Linked DNA regions of Homo sapiens: region 2 is linked to region 1. Evidence: promoter capture Hi-C in 16 types of primary human blood cells and fetal thymus (Javierre and others, 2016). All regions are on one chromosome and are shown on one strand. Each heading gives the region's core, a stretch centred on a gene start or on the middle of the fragment in contact. The rest is flanking DNA. Distances are from core to core; before and after follow the strand shown.

What was found. The method cuts DNA at HindIII sites, captures the fragments that hold promoters and counts their contacts. A CHiCAGO score of 5 or more calls a contact.
Region 2: a contact is called between a fragment that was not itself captured here and the fragment with the promoter of ENDOD1 in region 1, in 1 of 17 cell types (activated CD4 T cells). The highest score is 6.0, in activated CD4 T cells.

What each region holds. Positions count from the first base shown.
Region 1 is chr11:95,087,339-95,091,964 of GRCh38, reverse strand. It overlaps ENDOD1 (endonuclease domain containing 1), which reads right to left and starts at 2,119. Exons shown (of 2, transcript NM_015036.3): 1 at 1,738-2,119. The coding sequence starts at 2,037. RefSeq lists a silencer at 1,868-2,297 and enhancers at 2,308-2,367, 2,438-2,717. The HindIII fragment of the contact is 8,670 bases long and covers 1,172-4,626 here.
Region 2 is chr11:96,433,183-96,437,808 of GRCh38, reverse strand. No RefSeq gene overlaps it. Among named protein-coding and RNA genes, the nearest start is that of JRKL, 45 kb to the right of the region's middle. The HindIII fragment of the contact is 899 bases long and covers 1,816-2,714 here.

The DNA.
Region 1 (4,626 bases), core at 870-3,369:
CACACCTGAGAACTTTATATATGGTAACTCATTAAATCTTCACACCACCCTATGCTATTATCTCCAATTTAACCTGCCCAAGTTCATAGCTAGTCAGTGGAGCAACTAGGATATGAACCCACATAGCATGGCTCTAATCAGATACTACACCACCTCTCCACCCAGCAAACTCCACCTGCAGATCAGGTAGCCTTTGTTCCAGAACTGCACTCAGATCTCTTGGTCCCAAATATCTGGCACACAGCAGGAGTCACTAAATGTGTTCTGAATTTAACTGAAATTTGTTTAGCATCCATTCCCATGATTTCCTCAGACGTATGTTCTGTCTCCCCAAGCTGTCCATGAGATCAAGGGGAAAGAACTAGCTCATTTGTTTTCTTCGCAGGCACACAATCACAATGCAAGATGAGAGGTGGGGAACACCCTGTGAGCTCTAGGGGTGCAGCTGGTGGAAAACTAATTTTGGATTTAAATGTGTCTTGTGTGTGCAACTGACAACGTCTTTTTCACATGCCTGATCTCGACAAGTGTTATCAACAGTTGAGGTAGGTGGAAGGATGTGAGGAAGATAAGAAAACTAGGTGCAGATTGTTTGAGACCTGGCCAAGACCTCAGAGCTAGAAATATCTGAATGAGATTACAACCCACAGGCTCTGAATAAAGCACCTGAAAGCCAGCCTCCTGTCCACTGGTGTGGTCCTGGGCAGCTGTGGCCGTCAGGAAAGGGAGAGCGTTGGGTCAGTTCTTCCCCCAGCAGCCTGGGCAGGGGTGGGAGGCTGGTGAGAGGGCAAAGGGGAGTCTGGCAGGGTGTTCTAGAGAGGAGGCCAACTGAGGAGAGGTATTAAGAGCAGGCCAGCAGGTTCGGAAGACTCTGAGGGCTTCTCAAGTGTTTGGTCACCTTTACCAGACGGGACAGAACACCATGAGAGGTGACACGATTTCCTAGTGGTATGATAATATAGATATGAGGAGTCAGGAAAAACTGGCTTATCTTTCCATCAGTTGGAGGTAGTCAATGTTTCCCTATCATTTTTAACTACCCCATTGCGTTTCTAAAAATCTGTATCTTTATTTCATTGTTCTAATTCAACACAACCGCAGATCGAATTTACTCAACGCCGTGGTAGAGGAAGGATTTTCAGGCTAGGATGAGCTCTGCAGAAGAGAAGCTTTACTTAGTAGAAAAGGCAGTGAATTTCTAGACAGAGACCTGCCCCATCTTACTAACTGGGTAGTCTTCCATATGTCTCTTCACCCCCTGGGTTTATCTCCTCTTCTGTAAAATGGGGATGAAAATGCCCACCTACCCACCTCCAAATGAGTGCTATGGCAATAAGTTGCACGAAGGCCTGTGAGCGCCCAGCCTAGGCTTTCTGCGGATCTGAACGGTCTCCAGGGTCTCTGTATCAAGCTCTTCACCATTCAGGAATGAAACACTGCGGATGTCTGCTCAGAAATGCAGGGAGAACCTCCTCCCACAGGGGACCTCCCGCCCTGCAGCTCATGAAGTGAAGGCTCGCAGATCGCCAGGCTCTTATTGTAGCTCGACAGGGGCGAGGCAGGCTAACTCCGGGGACGCAACAGGGTGGACCTGGAACCCGGGTTTCTTGGCCCAAGGCACCGAAGGCGTAGGGATTGCTGTTCCCGGCCCGCCCCTCGCGGTAGCTGCAACTGGGGGCATGTCCAGCGGCACGGTCTCCGGCGCCCGCAGCCCGGCTCGGGAACCACTTCGCTTACCTGCGGCTCCACCAGCCATCGCTGCTCGGCGCCGCCGGGCGCAGGGCGCGGGGCGCGGAACGCGGAGTACACGGGGATGCGGTCCCGGGTGCTGTAGAGGGTGGCGAAGCGCTCAGCACCCTCCGCGCGCTGACAGATCTTCACGTGGGAATCGGCCGCCAGCCCCGCAGGCGGGGTCCCGGCGTAGAAGAACTTGTCACATTCGCCAAAGCCGGCTTCCTCCTCGCCCACGAGCCGGCCTTCCAGCAGCCCAGCCAGGGCGAAGAGGCTGCCCAGCGCGAGCCAGCGCGCGGTGCCCATGGCGGCCTCTGCGAGCGCGGCGGGGCCGAGCGGCTGGGCTGCCGCGGCGCGAGCTCTGCAGGCTGGGCGGGGAGCGCACTACGCAGCCGAGCAGGGTAGGGAAGGGAAGTCGCAACCTAGGCGCGGCGCTCTGCGGAGCCGGGCGGGGCGGCCCGGGCGGCGGGGGCGGGTCCGCGTCGGGAGGCCGCGCCTCCCTCCCTGAAGATGGCTGCAGAGGCCCAGGGCCGCGCTCCGCGATGCTGACAACGTACCCTGGGCTGCGCCCGGGACTGGAGACGCGGGTCACCTGCCTCCGCGCCGCCTGGTCTCAGCAGTCCGGGGGACGCGCGCTACCAAGAGTGGAGAATCCGAGTGGGGCGGGCCTAGTCCCGGGGCTGGGAAGAGATAGTCGCATGGACTGGGCGCCAAGAAGCCTGCTGATCGCGCGCGCCCCACGGCCGCCCTGGTGATGCAGAGGGGTGGCGTGAGATGCTCGTGGAGCTGCGGCTGGTTCGGAGTGGATGGGCAGAGTTCCCCTCTGAAATTTCATGAAGATGCGTCTCCCACTCTCCACCGAAGTACTCAACGACCAGCACACGCATACAATTTTGATGGAGTTTTTTGTTTTTTGTTATGTTTTTTTAGCTCACCAGAAACTCAGAGAGTAAAGAAATACTGTTAAAGGAAGTTCCTAAACTAGGCAGACAGTATAACCCTGTGTGGTTTTCTTGGTGCAAGTGTTAGAAACAAAACCGATACCAAGCAAGGAAGGAGGCCAGCCAACGTCATTGGTCAACAGGTTGGCCAATTCTTTCCTTCATTTATCCCTCTGAATGCCTAGGTGCCAGCCTGAGATAGGCACTGGATTACCACAGGGGTAAACAAGAGCAGGGCTCCTGCGGTCACAAAGACAGCCTAGTGGGAAAGTTTGTCATTAACCGAGGAAACATGCTATTAAAGGGATAACTAAAAACTGAACACAGATCTGTGAGACCCTGACAGCTACAGGGGTTCAGGATGTAATCCGGGAAGGTTTGCCTGAAGAAGTGGCATCTGAGCTGAGACCTGGAGGATGACATTAACTAGGCAAGGAGGAAAACCATGTGCTAAGTGGTCTCCCACAGAAGGGAACATGATGTATTGGAGGAATTTAAGGAAGGCTAGTGTGGGTAAAGCGCGGAGAACCGCGTGGGGGATGATGGGAAGTGGGGCTAAAGGAGGAGGCAGGGGTCATATTACTCAGGTTATTATAGGCCAGAGGCCTTCAAACACTTTTTGAGAAGGCCCATAATGAGAAAAGTTTGATGAAATAATTCTTATGCTTATGATTGGCATTGCAATTTCATATTTCTGTTCTACTTCACTTTTTTAAAAAAGTGCTGGTGTTGACCCACTAAATTGTTTCTATGAGCCACTAATGGCTCATGACCTGCAGTTTGGAAAAAATATTGTAAATCATGTTGAGGATTTTCATCTTTTAAAGGTGGTGACTCGATTCTTTTTGCTATCAGGGAAGAGACTGGTAGATTGAAGTGGCACAGAATAAATGGGTGGCTCACACCTGTAACCCCAGCACTTTGGGAGGCTGAGGCAGGCGGATCACCTGAGGTCGGGAGTTTGAGACCAGCCTGGCCAACTTGGTGAAACCCGTCTCTACTAAAAACACAAAAAAATTAGCTGGGTGTGGTGGCGGGCACCTGTAATCCCAGCTGCTTGGGAGGCTGAGGCAGGAGAATCGCTTGAACCCAGGAGGCGGAGGTTGCAGTGAGCCAAAATTGTGCCACTGCATTCCAGCCTGGGCAACAGAGCCAGACTTTGTCTCAAAAAAGAAAAGGAAAAGAAAAGAAAAACACCCCATAATTGCCACAATCCAGATAAGAGATGGTAGCTTGGACCAGGATGGTAGGATGGTGGCAGCAGAGATAGGGTCAAGGCAGCTACCCAGGGCCAGGGCCTGTGCTCATCTTACGATGTCATCTGTTTCCCCAGTGTGCCACTACAGGGACTGAGACCAGAGCCTGTTGATTCTGGCCTAAGCTGGCACAGCCAGTGAGTCCTAAGACAGATTTGAAACAGGTCTCTCTGCTTCCCAAGCCTGGCCTTTTCTTTTAACTCACAGCGCATCTGTAAGGTGAGCCCATAAAGAAGGAAGCTCTTCAAGAGATTATACATTGGAACTTAAGAACAAATTTCTTACAGGTTTTAATTCCGGAAAATGTTGACTATGTTTGGTCCCAGAAATGAAACCAAAGTTTGTATCTTAGTTTTTTTAAAAAAAGGAGGGGACACATTTAGTGTGATGTCACAGAAGAGGCTAGACTTGAAGTCCCCTTTGATCTGGATGATGACCCTGATCATCTGGTACTAGTATCTCAGTCATCTCATCCTTGTAGGCTTCAATCAAGTCCTCCCACAGGGACAATGCTGCTCCTGGGATGCTGGGAGGATTATAGGTTTTACAGGATTTTAAAAATATTTACATTATTTTATAAGGTTGAATATAGGGTTCCCCAATGTTGACTTATGATGTCTACCATAAAGATATATAAACACAGTTGAACAACTAGAAATCCATCCCTCTCTTCTCTGAGTTCTTTAAACATTTATCTG
Region 2 (4,626 bases), core at 1,016-3,515, 1.3 Mb before region 1:
TGTCACCTTGGACTCCCAAAATTTAAGTATTTCTTTCTGAAGACTATTATTTTTAGTAATTCATATGTAACCTGAAAGTCCAACATTATAATAGCCCCTGCTTGCAAGATAGCAAGATCTCAGGTCCCCTCTCCTTGAAATTCCCTTCAGCAAGAAACACAGCATTCATATTCCCTTGTCAGTACCTGACTTTTCATCTTTCTTAAGTCTGGATTGCAATCCTCCTTCTATCCATGGAACTCTGCTCATTGCTCAGCTGCCGACATTTATGCAATTACTAGATCATCTCAGAGCTGCTGCTGCTGTTGCCACTTCTTCCACACTAGCCTCTATAGCAGCAGTTCTCAGTTTAGTTGTACATGAGAATCACCTGTAGTGTTTTCAAAACTGCTGCTACTCATGCAAACACCAGAACAATTAAATCAAATTTTCTGGAGAACTTAAGCAAAGTTATTGCTCTCTTCTCTCCTTTACAAGCATGGATACAGATTTTAATTAACTCTTTTCATCATAGTCCATACTACATTCTGCATCTAAACTTTACTGAAGACAGAAATAAGAGATGGGAAATACAACATTAAAAAAAAATTAAGGCATTTTATATAGCAGCCGTCTGAATCCATGCTTCCTGAATTAGTCTCATTGGGCTTTTACAGGCTCCCTGATTATTATTATGGGACTTTTGCAGTTTGCTTCCCTGTGTAGCTGCAAGCCTGCTTCCTTGTGGCAGAAAATTACTTCCCAGCACTGTTGCAAGTGCATATGAGAATACCTACAGTAGACTCAAGACAACATTACAAAGAAAGGAGTTCCTTCTTTAACCAACCCGAGGCCTGCCTTTCCATCCTCATTTTCTGTTCCAGAAAACTGGCAGTGGGAAAAATTTATCTCCTTCAGGGGCAAGTACACTTGGCACCCATGGAAGTCAGTCCTGTGACCCCAACAATCATAGCAGACAATCTCATCACAGCTGCATCAGCTTCATCTCAAGCAATATTCACAGAAAAGGAAAATTTTTTTTCTTTACATCTCACTTCCATGCACAGTAAAAAAAAAAAAAAAAAAAAAAAAAGACAATGGTTTTCATTTTTAACATTTCTCCATTATATATAGTGTATTTATACTCCAATGGATGTTGAGCATCTACAAACCAGCTTAGTTCTCTTTTATGGTCTTTCCTCTGCTTGCATTTCATCTGTTGCAGTTTTGTTTTTGTTTTTGTTTTCGTCTGAACTCCTGACTTCGCTAACCAACGACTCTAATATAAACAAATAAAAATAAGCACATTTCCACCCACATCTACACACACACACACACACACACACACACACACACACACACAGTGGAAGCATGTTGCAATTTAAATACAATACTGAAGGACTATCTGATTTCAAAACATACTGCAAAGCTACAATCAAAACAGTGTGGTACTGGCATAAAAACAGACATGTAGACCAATGAAACAGAATAGAGAGCCCAGAAATAAATTCACACATTTATGGTCAATTAACTTTTGACAAAAATGCCAAGAACGCACTATGATGTAATGACAGTCTCTTCAATAAATGGTGTTGTAAAAATTAAATATCCACATGCAGAAGAATAAAATTGGACCTGTATCTCAAATCATATTCAAAAACCAACTCAAAGTCGAATAAAAACTGAAATATATGATCAGAAACTCTAAAACTTCTAGAAGAAAACATAGGAAAAAAGCTTCATGACATTGATCTGGGCAATGATTTTTTTGATATAATCACAAAAGCAAGACAACAAAAGCAAAAATGGAATAGAATTACACCAAACTAAGAAGCTTCTCTATATAGCAAAGGAAACAATCAACTGAGTAAAGAGAAAATCTACAGAATGGGAGAAAATATTTGCAAACCACACATCTGGTAAGTGATTAATATTCAAAATATGTAAGAGATTCAACTCAATAGCAAGAAAGCGAATAATCTGATTTTAAAATGGACAAAGGACCTGAATAGACATTTCTCAAAAGAAGATATACAAATGGACAACAGGTATGTGAACAAATGCTCATTACTAATCAGGAAAGTGCTAATGAAACCCACAATGAGATATCACCTCACAACTATTAGAATGGCCATTATCAAAAAGATAAAAAGACAAGTGTTGGCAAAGATGTGGAGAAAAGAGAACCCTTGCACACAGTTGGTATAAATGAAATGTAACCTAGTATAGCCGTTATGGAAAACAGTTGAGAGATTCCTCAGAAAATTAAAAATGGAACCATTATATTATTATATGATCCAGCAATCCCATTTCTTGATCTATGTCTAAATGAAGTGAAATCAGTATGTTCAAGAGAGATCTGTGCTTCCATGTTAGTTGCAGCATTATTCGCAATAGCTAAGACATGGAATCAACCTGTGTGTCCATTAACGAATGAATGGATTTTAAAATGTGGTATATATACACAGTAGATGATATGGTTTGGATATTTGTCTCCTCCAAATCTCATGTTGAAATGTGATCCCCAATGTTGGAGGTGGGACCCAGTGGGAGATATTTGGGTCAAGGGGGCAGATTCCCTCATGAACGTCTTGGTACCCTCCACCCAGTAATGAGCTCATTCAAGAGCTGGTTGTTTAAAAGAATATGATATCTCTCTTGCTCCTGTCTGTCTTGCTCCCTCTTTTGCCATGAGATGCCTGCTCCCCTTTTGCCTTCCACCATGATAATAAGCTTCCTGAGGACCTCACCAGAGGCACATGCTGGTGCCATGCTTCGTGTACAGCCTGCAGAACTATGAGCCAAATAAACCTCTTTTCTTTATAAATTATTCAGTCTCAGGTATTCTTTTATAGTAATGCAAAACAGAATAACAAGGCAGAATACTATTCAGCCATTAAAAAATGAAGAAATCCTAATATTTGTAATGACATGTATGAACCTGGAGGACATTATTTTAAGTGAAATAAGCCAGGCACTGAAGACAAAAACTTATATATATAATGTAAAAGTCAAACTTATAGAAGCAGAGGGTAGAATGATTGTCCACAGGGGCTAGGGCAGTGTCTGGGATTGAGAAGATCAAAATTTTAGTTAGACAAAGGGAATAAGTTCAAGAGATCTATTGTACAGCATGGCAACTATAGTTAATAATAATGTATTGTGTGATTGAAAATTGCCAAAAGAGTATATTTGGTGTTCTCACCACAAAAAATAATGATAAGTATGTGAGGTAATACATATTAATTAGCTTGATTTAGCCTTCCACAATGTATACAGGTTTTAAAACATCATGTTGTGCACAGTAAATGTGTACAATCTTTGTTAATTAAAAAATAAATAAATAACATTTTTAAAATTAAAAACTACAAACATAGGGAAGAAATCTCTCTCCAAAGGAAACAGCTATGCAGAGAAGCAACTCTGCCTGCAATATAAAGACAAATTTTTGCATTATCCCAAAGAGTTATTTAAACCTTAACCGAGTTTATTTGCCATTTTTCAAACTTTTTTCTCATTACGTTTTGTTCTACATTTGCATACACAAGTGACTTTCTGATAAGAAAGAACATTCCACAGCAAATATGCATCCATATCAGAGCCTCTTGCAGGAGACAGATGATTTGCAGCTTTGACATGACAGTTCTTTATTATTCCCTACAATATTTTAAAGATCACAGAACCCATTTTCCACTTCTGCTGAAGCTCCAGGTATGATATATTCTTCTTTCCCAAAGCAGCCTCTGCTAAAGGAAGCTTTTCCCAAGCACAGAGCCTAGGAGGGAGAGCTCAGCACTGATAAGAGCTGAGGTTGATTTCTGCCTGCCTGTCCACAACTTGCCCCAGAAACCAAAGCTTTTTCTCTCAGTAACTGGTAATTGATTCTGACAAGGATTCTCAGTCTTCAACTGGGTTTAGCTCAGAACACTTGTTACAAATATACCAGGACACTTAACCCTGAATTTTCAATTTTATAAGAATTTCTTACAAGAAAAATTAACAAATATATAATTTTGTGGGGTTTTATTATACAATTTATAAATGCAAACTATAGAAAACTACAAAATATATCTATGAAAAAAAAGCATTACTATTAGGCCCACCACCCAAATATTACTACAGATCGTTTGTAAATCCTTCTTCCTACCATTTTAGGGGATGTATGTATTTATTAAACAGAGAAGTAGAACAAGAATTACAAACACTTTGTGACCTCTTTTCTCATGTCAAAAATTGATTTTTTTTCTATGCTAGTAAACATTCTTCTGCAATATCGCTTAATGATTACATGGTATGTCAAAATTAATTTATATAACCAGTGACATATTATTAGCAGTACTGTGATCACTACTGGGTGACAAGATCAATTGTACCCCAAACTTCAGCATTATACAACATATCCATGTAGCAAACCTGCACGTGTACCCCTTGAATCTTAAAGTAGAAGTTGAAATTTTTTTTTAAATGCAATTAGGTTGTTTGCTGGTTTTGTTATTACAATCAATGTCTTTGTTACACAATCTTGGCACATAACCATGATTCTTTCCTTAGGATAAATTCCTAAACACAAAAATACTAGATTGAAAGTTATGTAAATTTTGTTTTATTTTTAATTGTATTCGTTTTTAATGTTTAAGTTCAGGGGTA